6 separate regions of the Homo sapiens genome follow, and all the other regions are linked to region 1. The links are contacts of gene promoters, found by promoter capture Hi-C in blood cells and fetal thymus (Javierre and others, 2016). All regions are on one chromosome and are shown on one strand. Each heading gives the region's core, a stretch centred on a gene start or on the middle of the fragment in contact. The rest is flanking DNA. Distances are from core to core; before and after follow the strand shown.

What was found. Contacts are between HindIII fragments. The CHiCAGO score rates a contact against its expected background, and 5 or more counts as called.
Region 2: a fragment that was not itself captured here is called in contact with the fragment with the promoter of GIGYF2 in region 1 in 1 of 17 cell types (fetal thymus); the score reaches 5.1 in fetal thymus.
Region 3: a fragment that was not itself captured here is called in contact with the fragment with the promoter of GIGYF2 in region 1 in 1 of 17 cell types (neutrophils); the score reaches 8.5 in neutrophils.
Region 4: a contact is called between a fragment that was not itself captured here and the fragment with the promoter of GIGYF2 in region 1, in 1 of 17 cell types (neutrophils). The highest score is 6.4, in neutrophils.
Region 5: a contact is called between a fragment that was not itself captured here and the fragment with the promoter of GIGYF2 in region 1, in 2 of 17 cell types (neutrophils and fetal thymus). The highest score is 5.8, in neutrophils.
Region 6: a fragment that was not itself captured here is called in contact with the fragment with the promoter of GIGYF2 in region 1 in 1 of 17 cell types (naive CD8 T cells); the score reaches 5.3 in naive CD8 T cells.

The regions. Positions count from the first base shown.
Region 1 is chr2:232,695,553-232,698,893 of GRCh38, forward strand. GIGYF2 (GRB10 interacting GYF protein 2) reads left to right here and starts at 1,779. Exons shown (of 29, transcript NM_001103146.3): 1 at 1,779-1,840. RefSeq lists enhancers at 1,586-2,282, 2,283-2,977 and silencers at 1,632-1,721, 1,752-2,081. The HindIII fragment of the contact is 8,556 bases long and covers 1-3,341 here.
Region 2 is chr2:233,563,248-233,566,588 of GRCh38, forward strand. It overlaps USP40 (ubiquitin specific peptidase 40), which reads right to left. Exons shown (of 32, transcript NM_001365479.2): 2 at 2,109-2,326. The coding sequence starts at 2,307. Among named protein-coding and RNA genes, the nearest start is that of USP40, 1.9 kb to the right of the region's middle. The HindIII fragment of the contact is 290 bases long and covers 1,934-2,223 here.
Region 3 is chr2:233,360,262-233,363,602 of GRCh38, forward strand. The region is part of intron 1 of DGKD (diacylglycerol kinase delta); the gene reads left to right. Among named protein-coding and RNA genes, the nearest start is that of DGKD, 7.4 kb to the left of the region's middle. The HindIII fragment of the contact is 7,993 bases long and covers 1-3,341 here.
Region 4 is chr2:233,290,540-233,293,880 of GRCh38, forward strand. It overlaps ATG16L1 (autophagy related 16 like 1), which reads left to right. Exons shown (of 18, transcript NM_030803.7): 15 at 1,589-1,738; 16 at 1,848-1,895; 17 at 2,717-2,818. Among named protein-coding and RNA genes, the nearest start is that of SAG, 16 kb to the right of the region's middle. The HindIII fragment of the contact is 4,043 bases long and covers 1-3,341 here.
Region 5 is chr2:233,256,530-233,259,870 of GRCh38, forward strand. The region is part of intron 2 of ATG16L1 (autophagy related 16 like 1); the gene reads left to right. Among named protein-coding and RNA genes, the nearest start is that of ATG16L1, 6.5 kb to the left of the region's middle. The HindIII fragment of the contact is 7,071 bases long and covers 1-3,341 here.
Region 6 is chr2:233,235,983-233,239,323 of GRCh38, forward strand. No RefSeq gene overlaps it. Among named protein-coding and RNA genes, the nearest start is that of ATG16L1, 14 kb to the right of the region's middle. The HindIII fragment of the contact is 1,046 bases long and covers 1,153-2,198 here.

The DNA of each region.
Region 1 (3,341 bases), core at 529-3,028:
TAAATAAATAAATAAATAAAGTGTTTCAGAAAGTAGGAAGAGGCCAATCATATTGAAGACAGGGAAACACGAAGTCAAGATGAGGACTGAAAGACTCCAGTTATCAACCTGTAGGATGGGGTGTTCTTAGGGCAAGCAATAGGCAGATAGGAAAGGACAGAAGCCACATCGGTGTGGTTGATGATTGCATGCCAGGTGTGGAAATGGAGAAAGTGCATATAAACAATTCTTTGGTGCAGCTTGGCTTTGAAAGGGAACAGGGTCGCAGGAGGGAGAATTGGTGTTTTTGATTGTTTGTTTGTTTATTTGTTTTTTTCGAGACGGATTTTCACTCTTGTTGCCCAGGCTGGCGTGCAGTGGCGCGATCTTGGCTCACCGCAATCTCAGCATCCCGGGTTCAAGCGATTCTCCTGCCTCAGCTACCCAAGTAGCTGGGATTACAGGCATGCGCCACCACGCTCGGCTAATTTTGTATTTTTAGTAGAGACGGGGTTTCTCCATGTTGGTCAGGCTGGTCTCAAACTCCCAACCTCAGGTGATCCGCCGCCTCGGCCTCCCAAAGTGCTGGGATTACAGGCGTGAGCCACTGCCCGGCCGAGAATTGGAGGTTTTTGTTTTTGTTTTAGACGGAGTCTTGCTCTGTCGCCAGGCTGGAGTGCAGTGGCGCGATATCGGCTCACTGCAACGTCTGCCTCCCCAGTTCAAGCGATTCTCCTGCCTCAGCCTCCCGACTAGCTGCGACTGCAGGTGCGTGCCACCACGCCCGGCTACATTTTTTTTTGTATTTTTAGTAGAGACGGGATTTCACCGTGTTAGCCAGGATGGTCTGGTCTCGATCTCCTGACCTCGTGATCCGCCCACCTCCGCCTCCCAAAGTGCTGAGATTACAGGTGTGAGCCACTGCGCCCGGCATGAGAATTGGAGTTTTTAACATTCCATTTTAAGATGGGAGACACAAGTAATCTTTAAAGCTGACAGGAAGGATCCTGTAGGAAGGAAGAAGTTGGAGACACAGGCAAGAATGGGATGCCTAAGGATAGAGTTGCTAGATTTAGCAAACACAGGACGCCCAATTAAATTTGAATTTCAGAAAAACAACGAACAATTTTTCAGTGTGTGCCCCAAATATTGCTGGGTGTCTTGTATTTTATCTGTCAATTCCAAAATAGTTCATCTCTAGGTAAAAGGGTTATAGCCCCAGATGTCCTAGGAAGGAATCAGAGCTCTCAAGTCCTTTCCAGCTGTCCCAGTACAACACTCTGAAATGAATTCCCAGTTCTACCAGAACTGTTAACAAGTAGAGAAACTGCTTTGAATTTCAGCTTTTGCGGCTTTCCCATTCGCTCTAGGATGGCAACTGCGAAGAAAAATGCCGGACTAAAAGCTGTGGAAAAGTTCTAATTTGGAAAACCAGCCCGCAAGTGATGCAGAGGCTTTTGAACTGCAAAAGAGCTCTGGGCGTACAGGACAGTGAGTCACACGGTGCCTGGTCCGGGCCCAACCCTGGACACCAACACCACTCAACTCAAGGGCAGGTACCCGGCTGCTGCCAAGGGGTCAGCGGGAGCCTGCGCACTGCCACGGCCCCGCCCTCTTCCAACCTTTCATCCGGGTCTCGGGCAGGGGCGTGTCTGGGCAGAGGGGCGGGTGGTGGCGGAAAGGAAGGATGTCGTGGGAGACTGGAGAGTGGGGAGGGAAGCGGGAAGGGGCGGGGGCGGAGCAGGGGGCGTGGCGGAGCGGGAGCGCGGTCACGTGACGTGCGTGGCGACGTGTCGGCCATCTTGTGTTGTTGAGGCTGAGGACTGACTGGGGTTCTGAGACTCCCTGTCCCGGACCGCAGGTAACCAGCCGTTCCGTGTCGCTCCCCTGCCCGGCTCTGCTCCGCGCCCCGGCCCCGCCGCCGCGTCCCGGGCCGCCTGTGTCTCCGGTCCGCGTTCGCGCCCCTGCTCCTCCTGCCCGAGCTGGCCCGGCCGCATGGACACCCACAGGCCGCTCCGGCCGGCTTGGGCCGTCAGGCGACGGGACAGGTCAGGTGCAGGGCCGGAGGGAGCCTCCTCCTGGGCGAGGGGCGCTGAGGGCCCTGGCGCGTCACGGCCGCGAGGAGCCGAGAAGCCCCTAGGCCAGGGCCTCTTGGCATTGCGAGGGGAGCCGAACAAGGCAGGAGGGTTGTGGGGTGGGCAGTGTCAGGCCGGCTTGCTCGGAGCTGGAGGGCTCGCCTTCCTCTGCTTGCTTCTCCGCGCCAGACACCCGCCCAGTCTCGGGGTGGCCCGGTAACAGCTGCTGCGGCCAGACAGCTGCTCCTGCCGGCTCTCCTGTCCACACCTGGTCCCTGGGAGGTGCGCTCCTGCCTTCCCCACAGAGCATCTGGACGGAGGAGACTCCTTCCGTGGCGAGAGTACTGGGTCTGGACCAGGCCTGAGGCGAGGTGCAGCCACCATGATCGGAACCTTGGGACCGAGGCTGGGAAACTAGAGCCCATGGCAGCCTTGGGGACCCAAATGTTCACATCAGGTTGAAATGGGCATTATCCTTAAGTGTCAGTTTCCAAAAGCACTCTGAATACTTGTTTTGCGACTGAAACATAAATCAAGCGAACAGGGAATGGGGGCATGAAAGAAGCGGAGCGTATGACCGTGTTTGGGAAGCAATAACGTTGTTTTGCAGTTAATTATTTAGTACTGTGTTTTTTATTTTGTTGTTTTCGTTTTCCTGCAAGTCAAAGCACTTAAACACACGTAGTCTCTCTGTAAGAAAGGTAAGTATTCCAGTTTAACTTGCAAGAAATTGAGTATGGGGCTAGAAGCTGTGAACAGCTTCCTTTCTAGAGCTACATACATTGAATTAAGGCAGTTTTGATTCCCAATGTTGTGCCTGGGGAAGGTATTCTTTCTTTATATAGTATGTCCTTTTTAGAATCAAATGACTTCCTAGATTAGAAAAAAAAATTCTGTCATTCTTTCTGTACATTAATTTTGCTCCTTCTAATATTTGTAGCTTTGGCCTTATTTTGTCCATTTTGCCTAGAACACAAATACTTTCTCTTATTCATTGATGGTTTTACGTGTTTTACTAGTTGGTGTAGCAGTTTCTGATGTGCTCAAACTGGAATATGTACTTGGCTTTTACATCAGATGTTGACAACAGAAGAGGACACTAGAAAAGTATTTAAAAGTGGCACGTAACTGGAAAAATGTCACATGATGTTTCTTTCGAAATTTAACATCAAGGAATACACTGGTGATGGTAGTGCTTCACCAGAAAGGAGAGGGCTTCATGACTTTTTGGTACCTGACAGCATTTGAGACTCTTGAGGTTTGGGAGGGAGAAGGAACCATGTGCTT
Region 2 (3,341 bases), core at 829-3,328, 870 kb after region 1:
TTCCGTGTTGAAGGTAATAACAGATGGCAGTGGTCTTATCTGGAAAAAGAAGTTGGCAACCCCATGCGAGTCTCCAGAATTTCTTTATCACCCAACATCTAGGTGATGTGCCACCCAATGGGGCATACCTGAATCTTTTGAGAAGTCTGTATCCGAGCCTAGGTAGGAACTCTTACTGGGAAACTCTGATATACTCTAGGGATACAAGGAATGGGATAAATGTGTCTCCCTATTGAAAAACTATTGCTACCCTAGTGCTTACTGTTAATGAATGTTATATTCTTTCTAAGTGCTGGGACTCGGCAAAAATGAACTACAAATCTACAAGTTAAAGCATAAAACCATACAAAAACTTTTATAATAATCTCCCAGTACTCTCAGCTACATTGTAATGGAGTACAATGGAACCCAATGTAGCCCTATTATTTAAAATACTATTCCAAAATTTCCCCCGCCAGTTCTCTGACAGTCCTTATTCTTTCCAAATTATACCTCCCTGTCAGTCACCATCAGGATTCAGGCTAAGCTATACAAGCAGTGCACATTGTGCACTAAGATGTCAAATCATATGCTTGGCCAGCAATCCCCTCTGCTGGAGAGGAAGTTGGCCTGGGACTCTCAGTACTACTCTTGCCTAATGGTACGCTCCATGACCCGCCCTACACTTCACCATCTTCCTCAGTCCCTTTGAGGCTACGTTTCTACTTCGAGTTGTCCTTTAACTTCAACTATATTAAAACCTGGAAAAGTGTTATCCCTATTAGAAATGTACTTATTAGTGCTGGCAATTTTTACTGGTGGAATTACTGATTGCATCAGGGAGATATTTTTATGGAGGGGATCGAGTCAAGGCTAAGAGGTACCACTTAAATCCCACATGCAATCCAACCCATTAAATTGCTCCTAGGAAGGTAACAGCGGTAAATATTTACTAAATCTCTGGAGGCAGCAAGTCTTTCTAAGCTTAGAAGCAACAGAAGAACCACAAAGATTTGATAAATGTGGTGGCAGTAGGGAAGAGGAACATGGCAAACCAGATAGGATGAGTCAGGCTGTCTGTCCTCCTAATATGGAGACACTGTGGAGAGCTGAGCTACAAAGCCATGTAGTGCTGGGGACCCCAGTCAGGGCCAGGTGAAGGCAAAGTAATGTTCACACTGAGCTCACGGGAACACAGCTCCTAGGACCCTTGTGGAGGAAGCTGGTTTGCAGAGATGGGGTATGGGAGAAATATATAGAGAGAAACAGGGGCAAGAAATCAAGGGTCCAGTAAGGTCAGGCTGGCTTCCTGCAGTTGATTTCTGAGATCCCCTATATTCTTACAATAACCCCCCTTTTAAATTTAGCTAATTTGGGTGGTGGGTCTGTTTCTTGCACACAATCCCTTACCTAAAATCTCTGGGTCTTTGGAATTCAGAATTTCCAGAGTTTATAAAGATAATATGAAAAAAGTGTTTTTTATATATATATAAAATGTTACATTCCCAGCAGGGTCTGGGCCAGCTTCCATTAATCAAGCAGATTAATATTCCTGTAATGAATGTATGAACATTCACCCACATGAGATAACTAAAAACTGTAAATAGCCTCACACCAGGTCTGGTTCTGAAGCCAAACAAGCTCAGGTGAGATCAGATGAGGGTGTGAGCTTTCCAGATTTCAGAAATGCGTATGAACAACTGTGCACCCATATAAATAATATGACACCCTTCCCCACTCCAAAAGGTAGATATAATTGGTTGGATAACTCTGGCTTAAGTGTTTGTTATTCTAGAGAAATCTTAAAACTCAAACAGTGTAACAATAATGAAGACTGATACTTATGACAATTGTCTTTACGTTGTACTTTAAATTACAGGAATTAAAAAAGAAATATATTGCTTTATTTTTTTACTAAACATTATTGTCATCACCCAGGATATATTTAAGATTAAGCTTCACATTTCTCTGCAGAGGGAATTACCAATTTATATCTTATATGTGCAACAATAAACACATACTGTAGAATATATCTTTAAGATAATTGGTCTATTTGTGATTTTGCATAATTAATTACATGTAAAGAAGATGGTACATATTGCTAGTTAAATGTACGTAACATAGCATACCTCTGAATTCAGGTGTGAAATGAAGAGTCTGAAGAAGGGAATTGAGGTAACAGGTTCCACCCTGATTTCTGATTCCGCTTAAATTGGTGAATTCTCTAGGAGCAGGTGGCTCCAAAGCTTTAGTCTTTAATTTCTTCCCTTTTCCATACTGATTATTAGACACAGTGGAATACTCCTCTTCAAACAGGTCCCCAAACATTGTGAAACTAAATACTACCCTTAAAAAAAGTGACATATAAATGCTTTTATTTTTAAAATAAATTTTCCCCAAATCCCCCTACCTTACACTTGGGAGTCGATTCTGTTGTTTCTTAGAACACAGGACTACTGTTTCTATGTACAGTAGTTGGGTTTTGGAGGCAGCAAGATCTAGATTTTTTTCATCCCTATCAGGACCCTAACTACCTGTGTGACCCTGGATATGTTAATCTGTTTTCTTATGTGTAAAATAGGATACCATCTGTCTCTTCGGGTCATTTAAACTATCCAATGACATAACGAAAGAAGGGCAGTTAGTGTACAGGGTTTGGCCCACAATAAGTAACAGCTGTTTTTAAAAAGGCACGTTCACATCACTAATTTTTTTAAAAAAGAAAACCTGTTGCCACAACTAATCCACTGCTGGGACGGCAAAGCCAACCCTAAATTCTGAGAATCAACTCTCTAAAATCTCTGCTTGTCACACCCTTCAGTACTATATACCAGATTATGACATTTAAATTAAACAGATCAAGTTAACTTTTTTTAGAGCACTTTAGTACAGTCCCGAAGCTGTTGGGCCGGAAGTCAGTTCACTGGGGAGGGAGGGGGGAAGGGGAGCGGAGGGCGGGGAAGACTGCCACTAAAATTATCAAGCCTAAAGGCCTTCCAGTATGTATCCACTAATCCCATCGTTAGCCCTGGGGGCCTAGGTGACTTCCCCAAGGTTTCACATCGAGTGTGGCGGAGGGTCACTTGGAGATGAGAAACGTAAAGCGCCTAGCATAGGTACCAAATGACAGGAAGCGCTGAAATGCAATTATTTTTCTTTTCCTCAGAAGAAAACTAAAAAAACACAACTCGAGAGTCTAGCCTCGAGCTCGTTGTCTGCATTCCTGAATTCCCAACTCCTACGGCCGGCCGAGGCCCTCCAAGCCACCACAGGCCCAGGGGCGCAAAAAGGCAGAGGTCCCCGTGGCCCGAAACCACTGCCCCGACTCCAGGAGAGCGCCGCGTCCTCAGGCAGGCCTGGGC
Region 3 (3,341 bases), core at 299-2,798, 660 kb after region 1:
AAATTTTTTTTCTTTTTTTCTGAGACAGGGTCTTGCTCGGTCGTCCAGGCTGGAGTGCAGTGGCATACTGCAGTCTCTGGCTGGGCTCAGGCAATCCTCCTGCCTCAGCCACCTGAGTAGCTGGGACTCCAGATGCATTCCATGATGCCTGGCTAATTTAAAAACACATTTTTATGGAGACGAGGGTCTCACTATGTTGCCCATGCTTGGGGTCTCAAACTCCTGGGCTCAAGCGATCCTCCCCCTTTGGCTTCCCAAAGTGCTAGAATTACAGACATGAGCTACTGTGCCTGGCCAAAATTTTTTATTTTGAGATAGGGTCTTGCTATATTCCCCAGGCTGGTCTCAAACTCCTGGGCTCAAGTGATCCTCCTGCTTCAGGCTTCTGAGTAGCTGGGAGCGTAGGCTCAAGCCACTGTGCCTGGCTAATTAAAGATTTTGAGAGTAAATCATCGTGAACTTAGGAGAAACTCTAAATCCAGTGTTGGTTTCTTTATAAGAGGAAGGGGAGGGAGATTTGGACAGAAAGACATGTTGGGAAAAAGGTTATGGGAAAATAGAGCCGGAGATTAGAGTTCGTTGATGCAAACCAAGGAATGCCTGGGGCCACCAGAAGCTGGAAGAGATAACAGATGGAATCTCCCCTAGAGCCTTTAGAGGGAGTGCGGCCTTCTGATCCCTTGATCTCCGACTTCCAGCCCCCAGAGCAGTGAGACAGTCAAGTTTTTTTTTTTTTTTTTTTTTTCCAAGTTTTGTTTTAAGCCTTGAAGTTTTATGGCAGCCCTAGGGCAGCCCTGGGGAAAGAACACTGGGCCCTGAACAAAACATGGGAGCCAAGAGGCTGAGCCCTGTGAGACTGTCTGAGTGCCTTAGCAGGGCTGAGGTGCCAGGTTCTGCCAAAGGGCAACAGTCCTGGGTGACACCCTCCCCTCACAATTTGGATTGGGATCCAAAGAAGCCACTTCCAAGGAATGCGCAGGAGCCAGAAGTATTGGAAGGACTGCAGCCCTGCTTCAAATCACCTCAGTCCTCTGAAATTAAAGTAATCCCAGTGTACTAGTGTCTCTAGATTCCCAACAGAAGCAAACTTTAATCCTCTCTAGAGGGAGATATCTCCCTCTAATCCTCCCAGTTATCAATGGAGGCCTCTAATGACTTTCACGAGTCTGTTTGTACGTTCATGATTGTGCATACAGTAAAAAAATAGACATCAAGGGAGGCGAGGCACTTGAGCTAAAACCAGTCGAAACTACAGGCTGTAGACAGACCCACAGGGCTTCCAGACTCCAGACCCAGACTTTATAACAACTGTGCTCGTTGTGTTGGAGGAGACACGAGATCAGATGGAGAGTTTTGGCAGAGAACTAGAAACTATGGAAAAGAACCAGATGAAAATTCTAGTCCACACTGGCCAGATGGCTCACGCCTATAATCTCAGCACTTTTGGACTGAGGCAGGTGGATCATTGGAGGTCACGAGTTTGAGACCAGCCTGGCCAACATGGCAAGATCCCGCCTCTACTAAAGATACTAGACATTTTTTTTTTCTTTTAAGACGGAGTCTCACTCTTGTCACCCAGGCTGTAGTGCAGTGGCATGATCTCAGCTCACTACAACCTTTGCCTCCTGGGTTCAAGCAATTCTCCTGCCTCAGCCCCCCGAGTAGCTAGGATTACAGGTGCCCATCACCACGCCCAGCTAATTTTTTGGTATTTTTAATAGAGACGGAGTCTTACCATGTTAGCTAAGCTGGTCTCGAACTCCCAATCTCAGGTGATCTGCCCGCCTCGGCCTCCCAAAGTGCTGGGATTACATGCGTGAGCCACCTCACCCAGCCAATAAAAGAAAATTATAAAATTGAAAAAGCATAGTGATCAAAATTAACTAACCAAAAAAAGAGCAGATTAGACCCAGGCTGAAAAAATTGTGTGAACCAGAAGATAGCTCAGAAGAAAATACCCACAAGGAAGCCTGGAGACATAAAAAATGGAAAAATTTGGAGAGGGTGGGAGACAGATATAGTAAGAAGGTCTTACTTGTGTTTAATTGTCACAAGAGAGGAGAAGTGAGAGAAAATTGAGGAGACACAATATTTGAAAAGATAATGTGGCCAGGTGCAGTGACTCACGACTGTAATCCCAGCAGTTTTGGATGCTGAGGTGGGCGGATCACCTGAGGTTAGGAGTTCAAGACCAGCTTGGCCAACATGGTGAAACCCTGTGTCTACTAAAAGTACAAAAATTAGCTGGGTGTGGTGGCAGATGCCTGTAATCCCAGCTACTCGGGAGGCTGAGGCAGGAGCATCGCTTGAACCTGGGAAGTGGAAGTTGCAGTGAGCTGAGACCACACCATTACACTACAGCCTGGGCGACAAGAGCGAAACTCTGTATTAAATAGAAAAAAAAGAAAGAAAAGTAATACCTGAGAATTTTCTACAACAAATAACAGGTACCATGAACAGATTCGATAGCCGTATGAACTGAAAGAACCATATCTAATCAATTCCTGGTACACCCTTGTGCTCTGCATAATGATGTTTCCGGATGATGATCCACATGGACAAAGGTGGTCCCATAAGATTATAATGAAGCTGAAAAATTCCAATTGTCTAGTGACGTGGTAGCTGTTATAATGTTGTAGGGCAATGAATTACCTATGTGTTTGTGGTGATGCTGGTGTAAACAGACCTACTGCACTGCAAGTGGTAGAAAAGTATAGCACATACAAGTATATACAGTACATAATAGTTGATGATGATAATAAACAACTATGTTACTGGTTTATGTATTTACTATCTATACTTTTTATTATTTTAGAGTATATTCTTCCTACTTATAGAAAAAAGAAAAACAAATTGTAAAACAGCCTCAAGCAGGTCCTTCAGGAGGTATCCAGAAGAAGGCATTGTTATCATAGGAGGTGACAGCTCCATGCACGTCATTGTCCCTGAAGACCTTCCAGTGGGATAGGATGTGGAGGCGGAAGATAATGATACTGATGATCCTGACTCTGTGTAGGTCTAGGCTAATGTGTGTGTTTGTTTCTTAGTTTTTAACAAAAATATTTAAGAAGTAAAATAATTAAAAAAATTAAAAATAGAAAAAAGGTTATAGAATAAGGATATAAAGAAAATACTTTTGTACAAGTGTACAGTGTGTGTTTCAAGCTAAATGTTACTACAAAAGAGTAAAAAATTAAATTAAAAGTTTATAAAGTAAAAATATTACAGTAAGCTAAGGTTAATTTGTTATTGAAGAAAGAAAGTCTTTCAAAAAATAAATGTAGTATAGCCTAAGTGTACAGTGTTTACAAAGCATAGAGTACTGGTCAGTAGTGTCCTAG
Region 4 (3,341 bases), core at 368-2,867, 590 kb after region 1:
TTGAGCATGCAGTGAGTGCTAGGCCCTTCACCAGCTGGCAGGTAAGAAAAGGCAAACAGGATACTCTTTCTACCTTTAGGTAATTTAAACTGTAGTAGGGAAGGCAGAACGCAAAAGTCAGTGACTAGTGTGTTGAAGTGGAGGCAGCTACGTTTGTTCCAGTGTGTTAAAGAATGCCTCTCCAGATTTCTCCGGAGACGTGAGTAGGATTCACACGGCAGGAAAGCCACTCAAACTTTTGAGTGTGTGTCTGGTGGCTGATACATGGCAAGTGAGCAGGAAACAGGGCAGAAGCCAGTGAGGGGGCTATGAGGGGTTGAAATCAGGTTGCCACAGGCTTGATAAGCCATTGTCAAATCACTCGATCTTGTAAGTCGTTGGGTGTTTAGCAAGGAAATGGTTGCTTTGCAGGAGTCTAGTAGACGACTTTGGTGGCATTTTGAGAGGGCATATTAGGGAATAGGAAACCAATAGAGTTGATAAGGACCTAAGTTCAAGTCAGTAGAGGAACATGTGGAGGAGAGAATCTATTTGAAGGAGAATTTGGACAGGGCTTATTGACAGGTTGGAGGAAGGGGAAGACAGGATGGAGAGTAAATGAGGACAGCCTCCCAGCAGGGTTGTAGAGAGGGTGGGGGTACAGGGCCTGTGGTGATAGATGATGCTTTGAAACACAGCATGGCACCAGAAAGTCCTGACAATGCTCATGGTTCCTGGACACCACTTCACATTTTATTCATAATCTTTAGTTTGCTTTTAAAACCTGAAATTGGAACTTGAAAGATGGAATTTGAGAGTTAAGTTGGATGTTCGAAGTCTCTTAGTCCATCCCATAATTTGACAGGTGAAGACCCTGAGTCCCAAGGAAGTGGAGTAGCTTGCTTCAAGCTGCATATTTAGCAACAATAAGATAAATTCTTGCTTAGTTAAGGTGGGAGGTAGGAAAAGGTTTCATTGAAAGCCTACAACAAAATCATCACAGAACAGGTCAGCACCCCCTTTGGCTATGAATGTCACCAACAGGGCCCTGCCCAGGGTGGCTGTTAGCCACCCTGGACATGGGCCACAGCACAGAGAAGAAGAGGGAGGTGCGTAGGGCCGTGGCTCTGCCCTGGCTTTCCTGGCCCCATATCTGGAGGTGGAGGGCCACAGAGCCACAGTGAATAGGGCAGAAAACCTGCAAGAGGCTAGAGTTACACTTACAAGGCAGCCCAGGCCCACTAATGCAGGTTTCTTTGCCAACTTTATCCAAAAGTTGAAATCACATCACTGAAAATAATACGAATTGGGTAGTAGCCCTAGTTAGCTCATGCTGATCAGAAACCGATGGGCGATTGTTGTCATTCCAAAAATGGATGAGGAAATTCTTACCAACTTCAGAGTTCTAGTCTGGGAATGACTGTCTTAGGGTCTGTTGATGGGAAAGTAAGAAAAGCAGTCACAGGTTATTAGAAGACTGGGAACACATTGACTGCGCTGGCAGAGCGTTGCATGCTAGTTGAATTGCAGTGCCTTTTTTTTCCTCCACGGCATGATGTGAAGTAGTTCTGGCCTACGTTACATTTCTCAGATCTGTTCTCCCTCTTAGATCAGAGAGCATAGTTCGAGAGATGGAGCTGTTGGGAAAGATTACTGCCCTGGACTTAAACCCAGAAAGGACTGAGCTCCTGAGCTGCTCCCGTGATGACTTGCTAAAAGTTATTGATCTCCGAACAAATGCTATCAAGCAGACATTCAGGTAACTGAAGATGTGCTGGTTGCATGAAGACCAGAGGCCCAGCCCTGCTCTCTTAACGTGCTGCGTGGCCTGAGCTCCCTCAGTGACAGTGCCCTGTTGTTTGTTTCAGTGCACCTGGGTTCAAGTGCGGCTCTGACTGGACCAGAGTTGTCTTCAGGTTAGTAGTGACCCACCCCCCGCCAATTTGGTTCATCACAAAGAGTCCTGCATGGGCATTTTCCCACTGGGGATATAGAGCTAAATTTTGTTCAGTGCCCAACCTATGTTTCCAGGAGTGTGCCTGTAAGTTCATAATTGCAGGCCACCATTATTGTCTCTTCCTTTCCAGTGTTCCTTTTGTGATTACATGAACCTAACGTGTTGTACCAAAAAATAACAGTTGGCTGGTTGCTTTGTTGTGGGTGAGCCCATTAGGTTCACTTCTCATCACTCATTCACGCAAGAGCTGTTGGAGAGCCTTTAGAAAAGGGCAGGAGTGGCCGTGGGCCTGGGGCGGGACTGAAAAGGCTTTTTGGAGAAGGGTGTGCAGGTGGTCTGCAGTTTTCTGCTCCTTGTTCCCTTCTTCCATGTATCCTGCTTCTTCCAAATACCTTTCCAGGCTCAGTTGCTAAGATGTTTCTTTTCTTCCCTCCTCTCTTTGAGGCATGTAACAAGGCAGTCCATGGGCTGAAACCCTTAGCTATGTGGAGGTTGGCTTTGATCTCCCTATATGTTGTTTTGTTGAAGTCTGTAGATGGTTAAGGACTTGGAGCCCCAAGAAGCAATGTGATGCCACTGTTCATTAGCCGGACGGGGCTGAAATACTGGGGAAAAGCAGATTTGGCTGGAAGGGCCATGACTAGCACACATTCTGAGGTCTGGGTACACAGGAGTGGTCATCAGTGAAGAACAAACATTCCTTCTTGGGAAAAAGGCCACAGAGATGCTGAATTGGGGGTGGGGAATTGACAACCTTTCTTTTCTTACTGTCTTCTGTAGCCCTGATGGCAGTTACGTGGCGGCAGGCTCTGCTGAGGGCTCTCTGTATATCTGGAGTGTGCTCACAGGGAAAGTGGAAAAGGTTCTTTCAAAGCAGCACAGGTAAGATGAACCCTGTCTCAGCCCCCCGTTGCGTTGTGAGCAAGGCCTTTGACTTCATCTCAGGGGTCATCCGGTTTAGACCTCAGTCGGCGCTGTGAGGGCACTGTCCGCCCACCTGCTCGGCTGGCTGAGCTAGGTCAGTGGAGAGAAGCTGGGGCCACTCACACAGCACAGCAGGCCACAGTCTACAGAGTACGCCAGGTAGAGCGGTTAGAGTGGCAGCCGCTGGAGAAAGGGTTATAGAAACACATCCCTGACTCTTTGGTTATGTCCACGTCCTCTGTGTCTCCTTCCCCTTCCCTACTCTCCTTCCTTTCCGCCTCCCTGTCTCCCTTGGAAGTCCCTGTTGTCAGTGCATTTCAGTGCATTGACGTGTCCTAAACACTGATCTCCACACACCTTCTTTTATCTTCCACCTGATAGGCAGGCCCCAGACCCCCTTTTTTCCTAGCTTTGTTCTGCCCACACAAGCCCACCTGCTAGTTGGAACCCAGATACCATTTTCCTTCAGAACCTCTCTCCC
Region 5 (3,341 bases), core at 399-2,898, 560 kb after region 1:
TGAGCGGGTTTGTGTAGATCCTGTTAATGTAGGATTGATTGGCACATACGTAAAAATTGCTTTCCTGCAGTATGGGTCTATTTGATCCTTTTTAGGTTGGTGTTTTTTTCAACATACAAATGGTCCCCAACTTGCAGTGGTTCGACTTATAATTTTTCTTTTTCTTTTTTTTTTTTTTCTTTTTTGAGACAGTCTCACTCTGTCACCCAGGCCGGAGTACAGTGGCACGATCTCAGCTCACTGCAACCTGCAACCTCTACCTCCTGGGTTCAAGCAATTCTCCTGCCTCAGCCTCCCAAATAGCTGGGTCTACAGGAACCCACCACCACACCTGGCTAGTTTTTGTATTTTTAGTAGAGGCAGGGTTTCACCATGTTGGCCAGGCTGGTCTCGAACTCTTGACCTCAAATGATCCACCTACCTCAGCTTCCGAAAGTGTTGGGATTACAGGCGTGAGCCACCGCACTGGCCAGCTTACAATTTTTTTTGTTTTGTTTTGTTTTGTTTTGTTTTGTTTTGAGATGGGGTCTCGCTCTGTCGCCCAGGCTAGAGTGCAGTGGCGCGTTCTGGGCTCAGTGCAAGCTCCGCCTCCTGGGTTCAAGCCATTCTCCTGCCTCAGCCTCCCGAGTAGCTGGGACCACAGGCACCCGCCACCACGCTTGGCTAATTTTTTGTATTTCTGGTAGAGACGGGGTTTCACCGTGTTAGCCAGGATGGTCTTGATATCCTGACCTCGTGATCCGCCCGCCTCGGCCTCCCAGAGAGGTGGGATTACAGGCTTGAGCCACCGCGCCCAGCCCAGCTTACAATTTTTAACCTTTATAATGGTGCAGAAGCGATACACTTTCAGTAGGACTGTGCTTTGAGTATCCATCCAACCAGTCTGTTTTTCCCCTTCAGTTTAGTATTCAATAAATTGCATGAGATATTCAACAACTTATTATAAAATAGGCTTTGTGTTAGATGATTTTGCCCAACTGTAGGCTAATGTAAGTGTAACCTATGATACTCAGTAGGTGAGATGTATTGAATGTATTTTCAACCTACTATATATTTTCAACTTCTGATGGGTTTAAAGAGACATAGCCTCAGTAAGTAGAGGAACATCAGTATTAGTAGATTGTGAAATCAAATTAGCAGATTGCAGTAAGCTCTTATTTTTCTTTAAGAACTAGATTAGAAAAATATCAGTGTGTGCTGGGCTTGGTGGCTCACACCTGTAATCCCAGCACTTTGGGAGGCCAAGGCGGGTGGATCACAGGGTCAGGAGTTCAAGACCAGCCTGGCCCTGATGGTGAAACCCCATCTCTACTAAAAATACAAAAATTAGCCGGGCATGGTGGCGGGCGCCTGTAATCCCAGCTACCCGGGAGGTTGAGACAGAATTGCTTGAACCTGGGAGGCGGAAGTTGCAGTGAGCCAAGATTACACCACTGCACTCCAGCCTGGGTGACAGAGCGAGACTCCGTCTCAAAAAAAAAAAAAAAATATCTATATATCTATATATCTATATATCTATATCTATCTCTTGGTGTGTATTGATAGAATATTTCATGAAATACATATTTGTTCATGGCGGGGTATTTGTGTTTACTGGGTCACTGGTGTGCATTTATGTATATTTGAAGTCTTATTATCCTCTTCTGTAATATTCATTGTGTTTGCATGTTAAATTTGGTATGGGGACAGTAGCCATTATTGCTCTGAAATCTCCACACATTTAGCAATTGTAAAAACAAGGTTGGTGATTTATGGTGTCTAGAAATGGTAGCTGTAGCCTGATGTATTTACTCCTAGAGCTGTAGCTGCTCTCATGTCTCCTCATCTGGCACGATGGTCTCCTGATAGAGGACAGAGTGGGAAAGATACCAGAGAACAGATGGCTTGGCAGGGCCTAGCTTCCATCCTTGCTTTGTAACAGTTCAGGAGATCCTGCCTGGCTGTGGCCCTGGGAGGCCTTCTGTAGTACTTAAGATATTAGTTTTAGTATTTTGGTTAATTTTAGGTGTAGATAATGCTGTTTCACCATTTTCGTCTAAATTCATCCAATTGAAAACTAAAAACATTTCTATCTGATTAAACCCTTGATGACTATATTCTTGTATTCTTTATCTGTTAGCCAAACTCATGTGCTTGGAATATGCAGCCGTTCTTTTGGCTAAATTTCACTGGGATAGACTTTTTTGAGGCAGGGTCTCTCTCTGTTGCCCAGGCTGGAGTGCAGTGGCATGATCATGGCTTACTGCGGCCTCAACTTCCAGGGCTCAAGCAATCCTCCTGCCTTAGCCTTCTGAGTAGCTGGGAGACTATAGGTGTGCACCACCATGCCAGTCTAATTTTTTAATTTTTTGTAGAGATAGGGGTCTCACTGTGTTACCCAGGCTGGTCTTTACTCCTGGGCTTAAGTGATCCTCCCTCCTCAACCTTCCATTAGTGTTGGGTTTACAGGCATGAGCCACCACACCCAGGGGGATGGTCATTTAGTTGGAGGTCTTGTTATAAACCAGGTTCATTCAGCCCACACACAGCAAGTTAATCACTGAGATGATGGGTTTTGTGAGAGTTTATTCATAACGTGGCCAAGCAAGGAGGCAGGAGAACAGGTCTCAAATCCACCTCCTTGAAAACAGGGATTGGGGGTACTTAGGCAGTAGAAAGCAGGGTGGTCTAAAGTGTGGGAAGAGGTGATTGGTGGGTAGGAAAGATGAGGTAATTGGGGCTTCCACGCAAGCATAATCTAGCTTTGTGGTTCCTCATAGGACACATGCAGAAAATGGTGGCGTCAGCACCATCTGAGGGAGGAGTGTTTTGGCCCTCTGATGTCAAAAGATCACCTCTTGGGCATTCACACAGGCCCAGTTGAAGGGTTGGGGGTCTCAACCAGCTTTAATGAGCAAGAGCTGCCTCCTAGTTCCTGGAGAAAAACTTTAAGCACCAGTTATTGTAGTGAGCCACAGTCAGTTATTATTTATAAGGAAGCTATTGGGAGTTTAGTTATGTGTTGTTTGGCAACTCGACTTGCTAGTGGGAGTTTGGAACTAGAAAAAAGTGATGAAAAGCAGGCAAGGCAGGTTGAACGGTGGGCTTCATCAGGTTACCCCTTGTTCAGTCTTTCCATTTCCACAAACATTATCCATAATAAGCCTGCCCTCCTGACTTCTTTGTTTCCATTCACAGTATCGTTGTTTTCCACTAGTCATCTATGGTTCCTTCTTCCCTCTAGATCTTCCCATCTCCATATTCCTTTATTCCTCATATTCCCCATATTCACCAAGCCCATTGGTTCTCCACCCCCTAGCCTCTTGCATCCTTTGGTTTGCATTTATTTTGCCACCTCCTTT
Region 6 (3,341 bases), core at 426-2,925, 540 kb after region 1:
AAACGGGCTTTCTAGTTACCCAAAGGTAAAGCAAATTCCCACCCATCAACCTTGGAGAAGCTGTGAAATCACATCCCATGGGGAGGCAAGATTGTTGGGAGGATTGGAGAAGATTCCATCCTAGGCCTGGATGCAGGAGACCTGCCCTCCCAGCTGTGGCATGAGAGGCCACCGCCAGGGGTGGCAGAGAGGGTGGGCGGATCCCTCACACTGCAGTGTCATCCACCAGGACCCGAGAAGGGCTCTGCAAGGCCGCCCTCCTCCTGCTAGGGGCCCTTCTCCCGCTCCCACCTAGGACTCGGGGAGCAGCTCTCGGGCCTCTTCCCAGGACACACAGGAGTTCCCGTCCTCAGATCTTGGTAAAGGCAGCAGGAGAGGGTGGAAATGTCCTGCTTTTGCGTCTTTGCCATAAAATGATGTCTAAGGGGTCTTCCTGCTCTAAAATTCTAAATTTCCATTTCAGTCAAGGCTTTCTGCTTATGGGGAAGAGAAACTAGCTCCAAGCAGAGACAGAGTAACCTAACCCTAAGGAGAGCTCAGCCAGGCAGAGTGGCTCACGCTGTAATCCCAGCATTTTGAGAGGCTGAGGCGGGTGAATCACTTGAGGTCAGGAGTTTGAGACCAGCCTGGCCAACATGGTGAAACCCTGTCTCTACTAAAAATATAAAAATTAGCCAGGTGTGGTGGCACATGCCTGTAATCCCAGCTACTCGGGAGGCCGAGGCAGGAGAATCACTTGACCCTGGAAGGCGGAGGTTGTGGTGAGCCAAGATCGTGCCATTGCATTCCAGCCTGGGCGACAGAGCAAGACTCTGCCTCAAAAAAAAAAAAAAAAAAAAAAAAAAAGGAGCACTGATGAAGAGTCTAGCTAGCCAGGCCTCAGCCACATGGAGCTGGGAACAAGGTTGTCAGGCAGAGGGTGGCTCTTCTCTGGGCCCTGGTCCTCTCTGGACGTTTCCTTCTGCTCACCTGTTTCTTTCTCTGCCCAGCGTCCTCTGCCTATTCCTGGTTCTCCTTGGCTTTGTCTTGCCATGGTGCTGACTCAGCCCTTGACTGCTCCAGACCCAGAGGCCCGGCTCCTCACTCTCCCTTAAGAGAGGATTTAGGCCCAGTTAGGTGTCCACGGCTGGTCCAAAAAGTTCTTGGCCGGAAAGCTTCAGTCATGGGATAGAAACACAGCCACCCAGGCACATGACTTGATTAGAGAGAAAGACAAGTGGACTTGGCAAGGGTCAGGACCTCCAAAACATCAACAGCAGTGTTGGTGGCAGCTCCTTTCATTCCCACTTTCTTCTATTACTTGGGTTTCATCCAAACCTCTCTGGTTCTCAGAGAAGTACGTTCTAGGGCAGGGTTAGACATGAGAGATTTATTGAAGGAAGTGTCTGTGCAGGAAGATGGGGAGATTACAGGAGGAGGCTGGGAGAGCTGTCAGGCCATGATGCAGGTCTGACCCTGGTGAAGGAGAGAGGGAAGGAAGGTGAGGTAGGAAGACTCTCAGCCTGCCGCACATTCTAACAAAGTTTGGGCAGGGTTGATAGACATCTGTCTAAGTCAGTTCAGTCTACTATAATAAGATACCATATACTGGGTGGCTTATAAACAACAGAAATGTATTTTCCACAGTTCTGGAGCCTGGGAAGTCCAAGGTCAAGGTGCTGGCAGATCCAGTATCTGGTGAGAACCTTCTTCCTGGTTTGCAGATAGTAGACTTCTCACTGTGTCCTCACATGGTAGGAGGAGCAAGGCAGCTCTCTGGGGCCTCTTTTATAAGGTCCTCACCTCATGAATGGGTGCTGATCCCATTCATGGGGGCTCTTCCCTTGTGACCTAAGCACCTCCCAAAGGTCCCACTTCCAAATACCATCACACTGGGGATTATGGCTTCAAGATATGAATTTGGGGCAGGGGCACAAACATTCGGTCCATAGCAGCATCCTTGAGGCAAAGTTCATCAGAGGAGTCCCACGTGTCACAGGAGTCATTCTGCCTTAGCAGCCCTGCTGTGCTTCGTCATTGGTTGGGAGCAGTGGTAAGAAATGTGGACACAGCTTGAATGTGGTGGTGGATTTAGAGCACAGCATCAAGGGCTGTCAGGTGATTGTATTTCCCCCAGCAGGAGATCTGAGAGATACAAGTTCAAGGTCAACACACAGGCTCTTTTTTATGAGGCAGGAGAAGGAAGGCACAGATTGGTAAGCTTGCAGGCTATGGAGTCCACAGGCTGGGTTGGAATCTGCCTACCTCTTACCCATCATGTGCACCTGGACAAGTTACCTGTCTCCCTGAGCCTCACTTTCTTCCTCTGAAATAATAATAATGGCCATACCTATAAAGCACTTACTGTGTGCAAGACACCGTTGTCAGTATTAATTCATTTAATCCTGGGGCACAGAGTTTAAGCAACTTGCCTAAGATATCAGAGGTGATAAGTGCTAGCATCAGAATTTGAACCCAGAACCCAGGCTACATTGTCTTTGTGAAGTAGAGCCAGCAATAGCACCAACACGACTATGCTGTTGTGAAAACTGAGAAGAGAACAATTGTAAAGCATTTAGCCTCACACACTGTATACATTCAATAAATGTTACCTGCTGTTACTGGCATTACTAATTATTATTATAGAAGGTACAGACTGAGTTTTTCTTTCTTTTTTTCTTTTTTTTTTTTTTGAGACGGAGTCTCGCTCTGTCGCCCAGGCCGGACTGCGGACTGCAGTGGTGCAATCTCGGCTCACTGCAAGCTTCGCTTCCCGGGTTCACGCCATTCTCCTGCCTCAGCCTCCCGAGTAGCTGGGACTACAGGCGCCCGCCACCGCGCCCGGCTAATTTTTTGTATTTTTAGTAGAGACAGGGTTTCACCTTGTTAGCCAGGATGGTCTTGATCTCCTGACCTCATGATCCACCCGCCTCGGCCTCCCAAAGTGTGAGTTTTTCTTTAGTGGTTTCGAAGATACACACTTTTCATCCCAATGGTCTCTTCTGACAATAACTAGTTTCCTTCATATGGTGGGGAAAATGGATCCCACTGTGACAATGTAAAGTGATCCCACCTGCAGACATTTGCCTTGCTTTGGCTCTACGCTCATCAGATGTCTTCTGAGGATAACGTGGTGTTCTGTGCACACTCCCAACAGGGTAAAGGGGACACACCATTGATAGCCTACCCAGCAGCCATTTCCTGCTTCTTCCTTCCTGAGAGAGACCCAGTTTCCTTTAGATATTATTCTGGTTATCTATTGCTGCATCACGAACCATCCCCAAAACTGAAAACAACAATTCATTATCCTGTCTCACAATTCCGTGGCTGACTGGGCTCAGAAGGGTGGTTCTTGCTTGGGG